5 separate regions of the Homo sapiens genome follow, and all the other regions are linked to region 1. The links are contacts of gene promoters, found by promoter capture Hi-C in blood cells and fetal thymus (Javierre and others, 2016). All regions are on one chromosome and are shown on one strand. Each heading gives the region's core, a stretch centred on a gene start or on the middle of the fragment in contact. The rest is flanking DNA. Distances are from core to core; before and after follow the strand shown. Region 1 holds the start of CASP3 (caspase 3). Region 2 has its middle 14 kb from the start of LINC01093. Region 3 overlaps IRF2 (interferon regulatory factor 2). Region 4 overlaps IRF2 (interferon regulatory factor 2). Region 5 overlaps IRF2 (interferon regulatory factor 2).

Region 1 (2,757 bases), core at 191-2,690:
TGCAATAAACTCAGCAAGGGGTAACCATATATAAAACTAAGTATATTTCTGTGCAGAATATAGTCCCTATAGTCGAATAGGCGCAAGTGTTAGAAACAGGCTCTGCCATGGGGTCCCTGAATCTGACTTCTGAATGTCAAGAACTTTTTGAAATCTGATGCAGAATGTCGTGCTCACATGTGTTGGTGAATTCTTCTGCGAAAATGATTCACAGTTTGCTTCAGGGTCTGAAATGAGTTCACGACCCAAAATAGGAAGGGGATCGGTAGGGCAGTGTATATAGCACACCATTGACGTAACCATTAATAACTCCATCTTAGGAGAAGACCCCATTTTTACATTTCATAAGGCATTTGCCAACAAGCATACTATACTTTAATAAACAAATAAAAAAATAGTCCGCATCCAGCCAGGTAAGGACACAAACAAGCACTCTCTTCCATTACCAGTTCTCACCACAGGACTCTGTGACTATAAAAGATGGGGCCTTCGGCAGCTCCCAACAGCCGGCTTAATTGACGCCGTCTTTGCAGAAGGACCTCTCGGCCCAAACCAGGCTTCTTTTCCTCTTCTTCACTCCCTCTGGATTGGTTCGTTAATCTCTTTGCCCCATCTCTTTTTCCTCATGATGTTAAATGCTACTTTGTTGTGGGATGCTTAACTTGTAACATTTATATGTGGATTAAGTACACTACTATGATGCGTGAGCGGCTTGAGCCTGTGTGTCAGGCTCTGACTACCCAGTGACCAGCAAGTGCTGAGAACTGCCTCCTTGGGAACTCCACGCAGCTCGTGGCTTTTGTGATCGAAAGAGCGTCCACAGCAGCCTGACATGGTGGAAAACACAGCATGCGTGGACCTGGTTATTTCTAGCCTGGCACCCTGATGACAGGAGGTTAAGGCTTTTGATTTAGGGAGAGAGACCTGAGGGTAACCCAAAGAAAGGCCTCAGGTCATCGCAGAGGAGACAGAAATTACCGGTGGGCGTCCCGGCCTGCTCCTCTTCTTCCCAGAGCTCAAACTGGGCAGCAGGCCTGGCTTTGTCTCCCTTCTAGGTACCCGTTGGGCCTGGCGCGGTTTCCAAGTCTCCCTCAATTTCCCTCCAGAATCCCGCGCTGGGAGCGGAAGCCCGCGGACTCTCAGGAAGACCTAGATTTCAAATCCGGGGCGGGGGAGCCGGGCCGAGCCTCAGGGCGGGACCAAAGCGGGAGGACTGGCGCGGGACGCGAGGGCGGGACCAGGGCGTGAGGACGCGGGGCGCGGGGGCGGGGCGCGCTGCGGTGGGCGGGCGCCTCCTGGGGCCCAGCCTGGGGCTGGGTTCTCGGGCGGGCGGGAGCTAGGGGACGGGCCGCAGCGGAGGCGGCGCGAGGGGCCGACAGGGGCGGGCGGGAGGCGGGGCTGGCGCTGGAGCACATCTCCCGGCGGCGGGCCGCGGAAGCAGTGCAGACGCGGCTCCTAGCGGATGGGTGCTATTGTGAGGCGGTTGTAGAAGGTATGAGGAGGCTGTGCGGTGACTGCCGCCCTCGCTCCGGGCCGTCAGCCCTGCCCCCGCTCCCTGCGTTCTCCCAGGCCCTGCGCCCGCCCGGGTACCTGCCCGGTCTGGAAGGCGGAGTGTTTGTTTTGCCACCTCGCCCGGGCGGGGGCGAGCAGTGAAGCCCGCGGAGCGAGAGACTTGGCCCGGAGGCGGGAGCCTGGGCCGGGGCCGGGGAAGCCAGGCAGCGGGTTAAGGCTTTTGATTTAGGGAGAGGGACCTGGGGGTAACCTAAGGAAAGGCCTCAGGTCATCGGAGGGGAGACCTGGCCCGGGGGCGGGAGGCTGGGCTGGGACCGGGGAGGCCGGGCAGCGCGAGGCCGGGCCGGGGAGGCCAGGCAGCGGGAGGCCTGGCCAGGGGAACCGAGCCCGGGGCCGGGAGGTCGGGCACGGGGCACCGAGCTCCGAGGGCGGGAGACCTGGCGGCCGGCCGAGTGCCGGAAGGCCGGGTCAGGCGGCGGAAGGCAGCGGCAAGCTGGGAAACGGACGGCGCTACCGCCGGCGGAGGAGTGGCCCCGGGAAGCGGTGCTGCGAGGGCTGGGGCGGCCGGGTGCTGACTGTGAGATACTCGCCCTGGGGGCTGATCCTTCCAATTTTGGACGAGGCTTCCGTCTCTGCTGCCTTCCATGCCTGGGGCCTGGATTATCCCGGGTTGACAATGTGGTTTAGCTCTTCCAGAGAGATAGTTGCAGGGTTTAAACTCCAATTCCTTTTCGGCCCTGCAGAGTTTCGTGAGTGCTCGCAGCTCATACCTGTGGCTGTGTATCCGTGGCCACAGCTGGTTGGCGTCGCCTTGAAATCCCAGGCCGTGAGGAGTTAGCGAGCCCTGCTCACACTCGGCGCTCTGGTTTTCGGTGGGTGTGCCCTGCACCTGCCTCTTCCCCCATTCTCAGTAAGTGGCACCCAAGCAGGAAACCGGAAAACATCGTTCGCAGCCCCCTCTCGCCCACCCACTTCTTTTCCTGCTTAGTCGCCAAGCCTTGTCGACCTTGTAAATGTCTGCCAGATCTGTCCGCGTCTCTCTATCTCTGATTTCAGCCGTCTGACCACAGCAGCCTCTTCCCTGGTCTCTCCACTTCCAGACCCGCCTGCTCCTTTGCAGTCCACTTTTTACAGCACAGGCAGAGGGATCTTTATGAAATGAAAGTCTAGAAAGCTCGTCCTTTGCCCTTAGGTTAAACCCAGCACTTAATATGGCTAACAAACCCCTGCGTGTGTTGGGTCCTG
Region 2 (2,757 bases), core at 91-2,590, 240 kb before region 1:
TCCTATTGAAAAGTCAGGTAGGGAGTACAATGTGCAATTCAGTCAGTAAGGCAGTTGCCACTAGACTCGTGGAGGGAAGAGGGAGATTGAGACTTGTATGGGAGGCAAGATAGAGAGGGGAGGAATACTAGTCTTGCAGTCAGAAAACCTGGTTGACTCTGCTATCCCACTGCTCTGGGCAATGTCCTCATCTATAACATGGGGAATACACATCCCAGAGAGGAATAAGAAGTAAATGAAATTGTATCTTTGCAAGTGCATTGAAAGAATTGCAGAGAATTATTCTCCTATAATTTACATCCACCACCCCTTTCCTCTTTCTTGGCTATTCAGATATTCTTGGCTGAGTCGAGGAATGAATACCCAGCTTGATTAGGCAGGTGTGGACTGAGGCTGGTGACCAACCCCACTGTCCCTCAGGAGCTTGGTGGCTGGTTCTTCTAGCAATAGCTCACCTGTGTCTAATCCCACATTTACTCTCTTAGAGCAAGAGAGAGAGGCTAGCATTCTGCTGACTGTCCAGGCACTGAAATGATCATGGTCAAGTCATATTCAACTAACTCCTTTTTTTCTGTAGAAAATACTATATTATAGAGTTGCACATGATCTTGTTGTAGGAGGGAGGTGAAAAACTAATTAAGAACATAGCTTGCTGAATGAGTATTTCCTCAGAGTTGATTAATATCAGTGTGCTAGCCAGAGCGAGATCATTAGGTCTCTGTTTTTGGCCATGGTCAAACTGACAACTTAATGAGTAATGCACAGAAAGCATGCTGATCAGATCTGCAAATGCGGGAAAAATACTTACAACCAAATAGCAAATGCTAACTAAATAGATGATAAACAAAACCAAATAAATGCCCGTAAGATTCTGTTAATGATTTTCGCCCCTGGATGTGCACTAGAATCAACAGGGAAACATATTTTAAAAATATTCATGCCTTCTAATTTAGTTTAATTTCCCCGGGAATTTAAAAAAAAATTAAAGAAAAAAGAAAAATCACATGACTAGGATCCTTTCCCAGAGATTCTGACTGAGTGTGGGGCCAATCTATGTGAAAATCATTTTAGAAGGTAGTAAAGGCAAAACAAAACCAAGATGCGAAGTGGCATACACTTTAGGATACTAAGTATATGAAAATACATACGCAGAAAAAGATGGTAGGAAAATATAAGAAACTGTTAACTGTGATTAACTCAGGATTAGCAAACAGATTGATAATAAGTGACCTTACTTTCACTGTATTTTCCACGAAGCCTTCAATAGTCACAATGTATTGCTTTTTAATCAAGGGAGAAAAGTTGATTTTTTAAAAAGATGTTGGAGTTGACTGATTACTTTTGTGTGCCAACTGTATAATGTTGGTTACTAAAAAAACTATCAGAATCATAGGCTGCCTGTCCATGAACATGGTAGCTACTTAAGATCACGAATGACACCATGGGCTTTGTGCTGGGCAGAACTCACTGGAGTTGTGTTTGCCTCTGAGGACCATATATGGATAGGGATATCATCCGCCAGGAAATGAAGGGCTGCAACACATCATGAGTCAAGAGCAAGATCCTGGTTTGGAAAAGAGGAGACGGGGCTACGGCAACTGTCTCTCTATATCTGAAGTGCTTTACTAGAGAAGAAGGAGCAGGTGTCCTCAAAAGCCATTCATCAGCAAGAACATGCTGGCCCAACCTAAGAAAGAGCCTGAAAGAATAAAAAGGTGCAGCAGCAGGGTTGGCTGCTTCCAAATGTATGAGGTACCCCATTATGCAAAGTGTCAGTGCACGCTCTGAAACTTTATGTATTTGGTAGGAAAAACTTCTGTGTCCTATTTATTCACAAATGTACTGAGATGTTCATTTATTCAATAAATATTTATTGAGAAGATTGTGTGTTGCAAGAAAGTTGGAGTAAGTACCTTTCAAAAGTTCTTTCTGATCAAATCATGCTTCTGCTTAGTTCAAAGGAAGTGTTGGGGCTCTGGTATTATGTTGACTGAAGAAAAGAAAATCGAGCTTTTAAAGAATTAAAGTTAGTTTTATTCAGAAGTCTGACTCAGGACTACGGACTGAGAACTACAGCCTGGGAGGAGTCTTTCAGAGAGGTCAGACTCCTCCAAAGCAGTGTTTTAGTTCATAGTTTATGCAAAATCACATCAAACTTGTTCAGAAGTTACAGTAAAGCAGAAATACATCAAGGTTAGGATGTAAGAGTACATCTGATTATAGGTCACAGAGGCATAATCATTAACCACACCAGATGTTGTCTTACGTCTAGGAAAGGGCAAAGACCAGGGTCACTTACCTTTTCTGGAATACAGCGACCCAGGCAAGAGATGTGGGAGCCGTGTGCTCTACCCTGCCATGTCTTCAAAGCATCCCTCCGGAGAGCTACACTTGCCACAGTGTCAGGGGCTTTGTGAAATTATGCTGGCCAGCAAATTGAGAAAATGCACCTTCTTACATTTGCTACTCTGTCTCACAACTATATTTGTTCAAGAAAGTTTTATTAGGTGCTAATTACCCAAGGAATAATTATTAGTATGTACCATGAATAGGTACAAGATTAAGGTTAAGATGCTGGATTCCAAACCTGCAAGGTTAAGGCCTTTGGTAGCAGTTACAGGAAACTCTGAGCAGTGCTGAGAATCCAGGCCCAATTCCAGATGGAGTCATTTCTGCTTGACTGATCAGGCCAGGGGGCGAGACGGACCCAAGCGGGAGGTGAGCAGCCTTGAGAGAGCCAATGAGAGGGGCTAAGGC
Region 3 (2,757 bases), core at 118-2,617, 230 kb after region 1:
TTTTCAGATCCCCTGGATGCATGCGGCTAGACATGGGTGGGATGTGGAAAAAGATGCACCACTCTTTAGAAACTGGGCAATCCATACAGGTACTAAAACTCCCTGCGGCGTTTATAGAGGAAGGCACTCTTGCTTAGTTTTGTTTTTATTACACATAAAATAGCCTGGCTTATGACCTCATGAAGATGGCTCTGAAAAACCTGTGACTTGTCCCTAGGCACATCCAGGACACATGGGGTACAAACTGCAGCCCTCAGAAGTAATGCTCCCCTCATCCCATACACTCTTAGTCCTTCAATTTCCTATAAATGTGGTATTCTAAGAAGTTCCCTAGGTGTTACCGGGGAATAGAAACTCAGTTGTTCTGATGCTATAAACTTTGGTCAAATTTATCTCCCCCCCAAAAAGGTAGTCAGAAATACCTGTATTTATTACAACCTTTACGTAGGGAGCTGTTTACAGGAATGGACTTTGTTGGAGCGTCAGATGAAAAAGAGGCACTCAGCTTCCCTCTGCCTGTTGACTTTGCAGCCTCTCAGTCTTCTATATTTTTCTTACGCTGATGCTCCATTCTTCCAGCATTTATAGTTTCCTCAAGCTGTTCAGTAGAACCAGGGTGACCAACTTGTCCCAGTTTGACTGGAACTGTTCAGGTTTTAAAAACAAAATTCCCACATCCCAAGAACTTTCTCACCCCCAGGTACACCAGGACGATTGGTCACTGGAGGTATAGCATGGAGTGAAAAGGTTTCCTTATACTGCCTGACCAGCAATACTGTGTTTCCAGAAATTCCTTCCTCTGTATCTAATGTTTTCTCTCTTTTTCTTAATCTTTGTCTCTTTTGTTAGGAAAGCATCAACCAGGAGTAGATAAACCTGATCCCAAAACATGGAAGGCGAATTTCAGATGCGCCATGAATTCCTTGCCTGATATTGAAGAAGTCAAGGATAAAAGCATAAAGAAAGGAAATAATGCCTTCAGGGTCTACCGAATGCTGCCCCTATCAGAACGGCCTTCTAAGAAAGGTAAAGGCATTTACAGACTAAAATAAGGTAAATCAATTTGTGTCATCGTGCCTTCGTGATCTCTTCATTTCTACATCTGCAGTCAGTTTGCAGGTAGAATAGCCTGTTCATGCTGTAGGGGATCATTCCGCCCCTACCTGGCTTGGAAACAAGACTTTCGATTCACCAGAGGCAGTGAAAGATACATGTGGAATTTTGACCATGTACAGATTAAAGCAACAGGTTCATTGAGAGTTTCAGAAAGAATTTAATTTGAGGGAAATGTTTCTCTGGAGGCCCTTCGTGAATTAATCCAAAACTACATTTTTGTTGCCACAGGAAAGAAACCAAAGACAGAAAAAGAAGACAAAGTTAAGCACATCAAGGTAATCTTGGGTGATTCAGAGAGAAAGCCAAAGTTGGGATCCTATTAATGACTCATATTCTGCCTTGTAAAGATGAGTCACAGGACCTCAGTGTGTCCTCTTTCTTCCTTTGCTTGTGTCTTCTGTGCTTTACATGTTTGCTCTTCAGCATGTATCCACTTGCAGACATGGAGGTACACAGGGCCCTGCCTCATCCCGTTTCTCTGGGAAATTTATGAATGAAGTCACAGATTCTCACTGTGCTCGGCAGGCTGAGGCCTCCATCTGGCCACCACAGCCGTTGCCAGTGGTCATTTTGTGCCAGCTAAACTCCACAACAGCTTATTCTCATACTATTAAGTATATTTTCAGGCTATTAAGTATACTTTAATATGTATTAAATGTTATAGACCTCTATACAATGTATGAACTCTATGTTACAGACATTCCGTCACAGGCCCTTTGGTGGGGGACAGAGTGGTCAATGTCAGCACTCTATCAGAACAGCTCTCAATGGCTGCCTTCTGTCCACTGTAGAATCATCTCTCACACCCCACAAGGGTTTTCCATGGGATGTGCATGTGTGTGTCAGCTTCTCACTAGGCTGTGTCGTCTGAACTCCCCTACAGTCTGAGGATCTTTATGCATAGATTAGGTGGCCCTTGTTAAATAGTAAGAGAAGAGCCGAATATGCCCTGCAAAACTGGGGACGAGCTTCAGTGGCTGAGCAGAGAGCATACACTGCGGTCACAGACCCAGGGATCTCAGAGAGATTGTCGAGCTCCCTGGCCTCCCTTTGCAGATGAAGAAATTTAGGCGGAGGGTGTTTTTGCAGTGATGCTTTCAGTTTCACTTTTACTAGTTTTTATTTTTAACTAAATTTAAATATTGTACTGTATTAAAGGCCTAATTTTGTTTTAACTTTTCATTGTGGAAAGATTTTATGCACATAGGAAGGAGACAGTTGAGTAAAATTTACCCCATAGGCCATCATTCAGATTAATTTTAACCTTAATCAGCTCCTGGCCAGTTTTGCTTCATCAATAGCCCCTCCCATTTCCTGACTTCTAACATGAAATTGCAGCCCTTCAACCATTTTTGACTTACAGAAGTAATTTATTTATTTAATTTTTTTTAAACTGAGATGGAGTTTTGCTCTATTGGCACAGGCTGGAGTGCAATGGCGCGATCTTGGCTCATTGCAACCTCCGCCTCCTGGGTTCAAGCGATTCTCCTGCCTCAACCTCCCGAGTAGCTGAGACTACAAACACGTGCCACCATGCCCAGCTAATTTTTGTATTTTTAGTAGAGATGGGGTTTCACCATGTTGGACAGGCTGGTCTTGAACTCCTGACCTTAAGTGATTCGCCCACCTCAGTCTCCCAAA
Region 4 (2,757 bases), core at 109-2,608, 210 kb after region 1:
AGTTAGCTTTATGTGATTTATCTCTCACATCCTCAGTTAACTTATTTGTTCCTTGAGGGTAGTGATCATGTCTTACCGTCTTTGAATCCCCCACAGCACTCAGCACAGTTCCTTGTAACAATGTGTGTTTAATGAATTTTTGCTGATCCATTGGGTGACTGGGTAATAAGAAAAGGCGTTCCATGGCCGGGCGCAGTGGCTCACGCCTGTAATCCCAGCACTTTGGGAGGCCAAAGTGGGCGGATCACGAGGTCAAGAGATTGAGATCATCCTGGCCAACATGATGAAACCCTGTCTCTACTGAGAATACAAAAATTAGCTGGGCATGGTGGTGGGCACCTGTAGTCCCAGCTACTCCGGAGGCTGAGGCAGGAGAATTGCTTGAACCTGGGAGGCAGAGGTTGCAGTGAGTCGAGTTCGAGCCACTGCACTCCAGCCCAACGACAGAGCGAGACTCTGTCTCAAAAAAAAAAAGAAAAAAGAAAAAGAAAAAGAAAAAAGAAAAGCTCCAGAGATAATATGAATCCTAGGGTAATGTTATGTTCCTCAAGATCTGATTTCTATTTACTTTTGGTAGTTCCAGGTCATTTTCATTAGATCAGGGATTGAGATGATTCAAAGCTGGGCTTCAGCCTTTGATATTAGTTTATTTCTACTTAGTTGTATTACTTACAAAGCTTGTGAGGGTGTTTCCAGGAACCCCTTTTCCTAGCTGCATCCTGATGTTCAATTTTTGTCTCCTCAGTCACCTGAGTGTGTCAAAAGCTCTGCTTTCAAAGCCCCACAGCCTCCTCTTCAGAAAGGAGCAGCTGTCCCTGCGCTAGGACGACAGCAGCCCTAAATGTCAGGTTCACCTTCCTGGGTTTCTTTTTCTCCTAGATCTTGCCCCCCTAATTTTTAACTACCTTGTTAGCTCTCTGATGCATTTAAATGGATTTTAAAAATATATTTTGTCCATGTTTCTTAGTTATTCAGCCTGGGAGTCAGGTCTGAATTACCTACTGTACCATTACCAGAAGCACCACCCCCCTCTCAGCTAAGGAATTTATTACCTTAAATCCAGCAGGCACATTTAGAAGTCTCTGGAACAGAGAATTAACATGATTAAATGGTATTTTAGGAAGATGACTGTCAGTGGTTTGCAAGACGGAGAGGAGTTTGGAAAGTCTCAGTAAGTAGAACAATTAAGAGGTCTTCATAACTCAGTGCTTTCTAAAGTACGATGAAGGCAGAGGTTAGAGTGGATAAGCCTGGGTGTTTCACGTTAGATAGGCCTGAATTTAAATGAGAGTCTTGGCTCTCCACTTACTAGCAGGTAATAAAGGATAATAAAGTCCCTATGTCCTAGGGTTGTAAGGGTTAAATGGCAAAACTTGTAGAAAACCCTAGGTTTTTTATTTTCTATTTTTAGAGAGGGGCTGTCTTTCTGCCACCCAGGCTGGAATGCAGTGGTGTGATCATGGCTCACTGCAGCCTCGAACTCCTGGCTTCAAGTGATTGTCCCACCTCAGCCTCCCAAGGAGCTGAAAAGACAGGTGTGTCCCACCACACCTAGCAAGAAAACCCTAGTTTTAATGCCCAGCACATAGTAGGTGCTCTGTAAATGGTAACCGTTGCTCTTACTATTCCAAGAACCAAAATTCAGTTATTTGGGTGAAAATTCAACCTCACTGTTAATAGCACTAATCATGGATAGTACTGTCAACTTCATGGGGGATCATTCGTGACTTACGAATCACAATGAATAGCTTGCATGCCTTATATAGCAGGCTTGGCACCAGTGATATTCTCAGTACCCACCATGGGCTGAATTGACTTATGGCCAGATGCCACAGTTTTGAAGCCAGTCCCAGCCTCAAATCTCAAAGGTGTAAAGGTAGATGATTTTACAACGTGCCTTTCGTCAGGCTCCAGGGTAGATGCTTCAACTCTTTTACTTACTTTGAAGTACAGGTTGCTCATATATTAGGTTTGCAGAACCATAAAATTTTAGCATTTTACTTCTAAAAACAACCTGATGTGCAAGAAGAGAAGCTTACAGAAAAAAAAACATCAGATTATGATTCATCGTATCATGGATAACCCCAGGAATCATCTGTTTAAAACGTCCCATTTTTCTAGATGATCAAAGTGTGGGCCGGGAAGATGGAGGGATTAGCCCAAGGACACACACCAGCAATGGCAGAGTCAAGGTCGCGACACAATGTCCTGATTTCTGTGCATTTTGGTTCTTAGACAAACATAGCCGCTCTGTGTCATCTCCACTGAGCTACCTGCCTTCTCTAACTCTGTTCGAGGTTCACGTGGCCTGACTGTTAGCGCCTGTGGGAGGCTTGCCTTACAGAAAGACCAGCGTGTCACCTTGACTTTCGATAATGGAAGCTAGACGATACATACCGAGTAAGCATCTTTCTTTCCAGTCCTCAGTCCTCTGACCCTCTGTGCCTGTCATCTCAGTCTTTTAATCTCCGGAAACATAATTAATCTGTTTATAGTGTCCAACTAAATGATCCGTTTCTGGTGCTAGGCTTGAGGTAGATTCTGCCTTTGCTGTTTTTCACAGAAGTAAAGATGTACGCTCACCCTCGGCTAGTCGTGAGAAACCTGTGTCAAATGGCAAACTTTGTACCGTGTCGCGAGGCAAGCGCACTGGTAATGCACTACCTGCCCAGGGCGTGGGAGATGGGTCAGGGGAGAAAAATCAAGTCACAAAGGAGAAGGGCCTTCATGTGACTGGGTTAGCTTTTCATTGAGTCT
Region 5 (2,757 bases), core at 150-2,649, 190 kb after region 1:
TGAAAAGTTGAACCAACGTAATTCAAAAGTGTATTAACATCCTTAGCCGGATTCACCCGGAAAATGGCATGTAAATAGTAAAATTTTTTTTTAGGTTGCATGCTTTTTGTAGTCATTTTATTTCCTTTGCTTATCATTTGTTCATAAGTTTATCCATCACAACGTATAGTTAATATCATCCGCCTTATCCTCCTCAGCCCTTGCCCTCAGTGAGTTTTCCAGGAGGGATTCATCCACTTTCTTATCAATGAGTGATTACTACATGTCATTATGTGCAAGCTACTGTGCTCGGTATTTTGGGATGAGTGAGATGGGACTCCTCCTCACAGGACTTTATACAGAGATAAGCCCGTTGCCAAGTACCTGAAGCTGTAAGCTTTGGTTGCATCAGAAGGTGGAAGGAGGCTGAGTGCGGTGGCTCATGCCTGTAATCCCAGCGCTTTGGGAGGCTGAGATGGGAGGATCACTTGAGGCCAGGAGGTTGAGACCAGCCTGGGCAACATGGGGAGACGCCTTTCTCTACAAAAAAAAAAAAAAAAAAAAAAAGAAGAAGAAGGAAGGGAGGGGGAGGGGAGGGAGAGGGAGGGAAGGGGGAGGGGAGGGGAGGAAGAAGAAAGGAATCAGTGGGATAAGAGGTTAGAAGAAGAAGGTGGAGGGAATCAGTGGGAACAAGAGGTTAGAAAGGTGGGATGGGGATGAATTATGGTGGCCAGGAGTCCAGATTTTATTCAATGGGCGTTGTGGAACCATGGAAGGATTTTCTGCAAGGTCAGGAGCCATTTGGGGAGATTAATCTGGCCAAGAATGTGCAGGGTGGAGAATATGCTTCTATTACAGAAGGTGGACCCTGGACATCGTCTTGCTCCTTGTGGAACACTGACTTAGTCACTGCAGTTAGGTGGAGCACGGGCCCTACTGTTTGGAATTTCTTTGGGGAAGTCTTAGGGGAGACCAAGGAAATCTCACCTCATACTTTTCCTCCTAACATAAACTAGCCTTTATCTGTTTCTTCTCACGGTAGCTCTGCTAAGTTGCTATTAAGATCTCTGTTTAGTGATGAGGAAACTATGGCTTGGCGAAGTTGAAGGTTGTGAGTGGTGAGGTTCCAGTTCAGGTGTGCTTGACGCCAAATCTGAGCTCCCACTACCATATTATGCTTTAACAAGGAGAGGGAAAGAAAAGAAATCATTGTGGTCCTGGGAGGGGTTGGCAGAGAGGGGAAATAGTGACCATCCAATGGATGCCAGATCCGACCCTCCCACCTCTGGCTACCATTCGGAAACTGGTGAGAGGCAGTAGGTATCTTCCAAAAATATTTGAAGACAGTTCTGCAGCTTGCAGAGGAGACATGGATTCTTGCTTCGGAGGTATTCCTGTACTTAGAGTGGTAGCAATTTTGGCTCTTTTTCCAGTTGGAATTCATTGGTAATTGGGATGGTTTATCCCAGGAATAGAATCAAACTAGCGGAAACTGTAGTGCGTAAGTTTATAGTTTGTGTGCTGGAGCTTGACCAGATTTGAACATAAAGAGTTAAATTGGATGTCTCCATAATAATTAATAATAATAACACCAAGAATAGCTGGTAACCTTTATGGAGAGCTCCCTGGCAGAGGGGACAGCTTAAAGGAAATCCTCAAAGGAAAAGTGGCAGCAAGAAGCAGATCCTGAGGGCCAGCCTGTGGATGTGGAGTGTGGGAGGAAATCATTTACTCTCATCCAGGGGAAAAGATAGTGCCCTTCAAATCAACCTTTCAGAACAGGTTATTTTCAGGCAACTGGTTTTTGGGAAGGCGTTGGTTTTCAAGGTAGTCTGCTAGTGATGTGATTGAAGTCAGAAAGCAGCAATTTTGTTGCTCTATGCAAATAGGTTTTCTTAGGTTCCAGTTCCAGTATGCTGGCTCTTTGAGTTTCTGTTATTTGACTTTTCACAAATACTGACCACATTGACATCTCCTCTCTCTTGTCCCCTTGTCTTTTCTGTGTTCCTGAAGGGGCAAAACACACCTTTTGAGGTCTGTGGAGCTCAAAAATGAAGTCAAAGGTGACTGGGTGACACAAACAGCTCAGGTAATTCAGGTCCTGCCGTTTCTGCCACGCTCCTCCTCCTCAAGCCAGCATGGCTCAGTTATCCACTCTGATGTCTACCCTTTTCCCACGTGCCTCCTCTTATTGAACTTGTTCTCTATACTGTTACGTCTCCAGTGTCTGCATCAGAGGACTGAGAGGTCTTTTCCGGCTTGCATACTGCAGGCTGACACAGTCTTAAAGGAACTTCCTACTGCACTCTGAGGAGGAGGAGCTGTGCCTTCTCGAGGTCATGTTACTTCTCCTGTACTGCAAAGGCAGTGCTCAGAGGACGTGCTGATTAAGGGAAATATAGGATCACTTCTTTTCCCGTTTTCCATATGGAAAGAAGCTTTGAAAATGCAGTATGTGCTCGAGTCCATATGCTTTGAAATCTGTGCATGATTCTTGCTTTGCTGAATTGCAGAGGCTGATGCCATCTAGATGCTGCGACCCAGGGCCAAACACACCTAAGGGTCCCAGCATGAGTTTCAATTTATAAAATACTTTTAAAAGTCAGTCTACCCTTTTAGGTCTTAATGGCCTTGCATAAATTTTTCTAGAAAATGCTCTTTAAAAAAATGATGGAGTAAAAAATACTCTTAGATTTTCATAATTTAAATGTATCTGGAAGGTAATTTATCTGCAATTCACAGTTTTCTCATGTTGTCTGTTTTTTACAGAAAAGAATA

The links. The method cuts DNA at HindIII sites, captures the fragments that hold promoters and counts their contacts. A CHiCAGO score of 5 or more calls a contact.
Region 2: a fragment that was not itself captured here is called in contact with the fragment with the promoter of CASP3 in region 1 in 1 of 17 cell types (neutrophils); the score reaches 5.6 in neutrophils.
Region 3: a fragment that was not itself captured here is called in contact with the fragment with the promoter of CASP3 in region 1 in 6 of 17 cell types (naive CD4 T cells, activated CD4 T cells, naive CD8 T cells and 3 more); the score reaches 8.9 in naive CD4 T cells.
Region 4: a fragment that was not itself captured here is called in contact with the fragment with the promoter of CASP3 in region 1 in 2 of 17 cell types (naive CD4 T cells and activated CD4 T cells); the score reaches 5.6 in naive CD4 T cells.
Region 5: a contact is called between a fragment that was not itself captured here and the fragment with the promoter of CASP3 in region 1, in 2 of 17 cell types (naive CD4 T cells and total CD8 T cells). The highest score is 6.5, in naive CD4 T cells.

The regions. Positions count from the first base shown.
Region 1 is chr4:184,648,130-184,650,886 of GRCh38, reverse strand. It overlaps CASP3 (caspase 3), which reads left to right and starts at 1,440. Exons shown (of 8, transcript NM_004346.4): 1 at 1,440-1,492; 2 at 2,256-2,422. It overlaps PRIMPOL (primase and DNA directed polymerase), which reads right to left and starts at 1,149. Exons shown (of 14, transcript NM_152683.4): 1 at 979-1,149. RefSeq lists silencers at 1,133-1,712, 1,723-1,932. The HindIII fragment of the contact is 9,772 bases long and covers 1-2,757 here.
Region 2 is chr4:184,884,558-184,887,314 of GRCh38, reverse strand. No RefSeq gene overlaps it. Among named protein-coding and RNA genes, the nearest start is that of LINC01093, 14 kb to the left of the region's middle. The HindIII fragment of the contact is 5,089 bases long and covers 1-2,757 here.
Region 3 is chr4:184,416,801-184,419,557 of GRCh38, reverse strand. IRF2 (interferon regulatory factor 2) reads left to right here. Exons shown (of 9, transcript NM_002199.4): 3 at 1-89; 4 at 850-1,026; 5 at 1,345-1,391. Among named protein-coding and RNA genes, the nearest start is that of LINC02362, 36 kb to the right of the region's middle. RefSeq lists enhancers at 338-1,537, 1,416-1,715, 1,906-2,075. The HindIII fragment of the contact is 6,751 bases long and covers 1-2,757 here.
Region 4 is chr4:184,433,702-184,436,458 of GRCh38, reverse strand. The region is part of intron 1 of IRF2 (interferon regulatory factor 2); the gene reads left to right. Among named protein-coding and RNA genes, the nearest start is that of IRF2, 39 kb to the left of the region's middle. The HindIII fragment of the contact is 1,357 bases long and covers 680-2,036 here.
Region 5 is chr4:184,453,091-184,455,847 of GRCh38, reverse strand. All of the region lies in intron 1 of IRF2 (interferon regulatory factor 2), which reads left to right. Among named protein-coding and RNA genes, the nearest start is that of IRF2, 20 kb to the left of the region's middle. RefSeq lists an enhancer at 2,283-2,342. The HindIII fragment of the contact is 2,041 bases long and covers 379-2,419 here.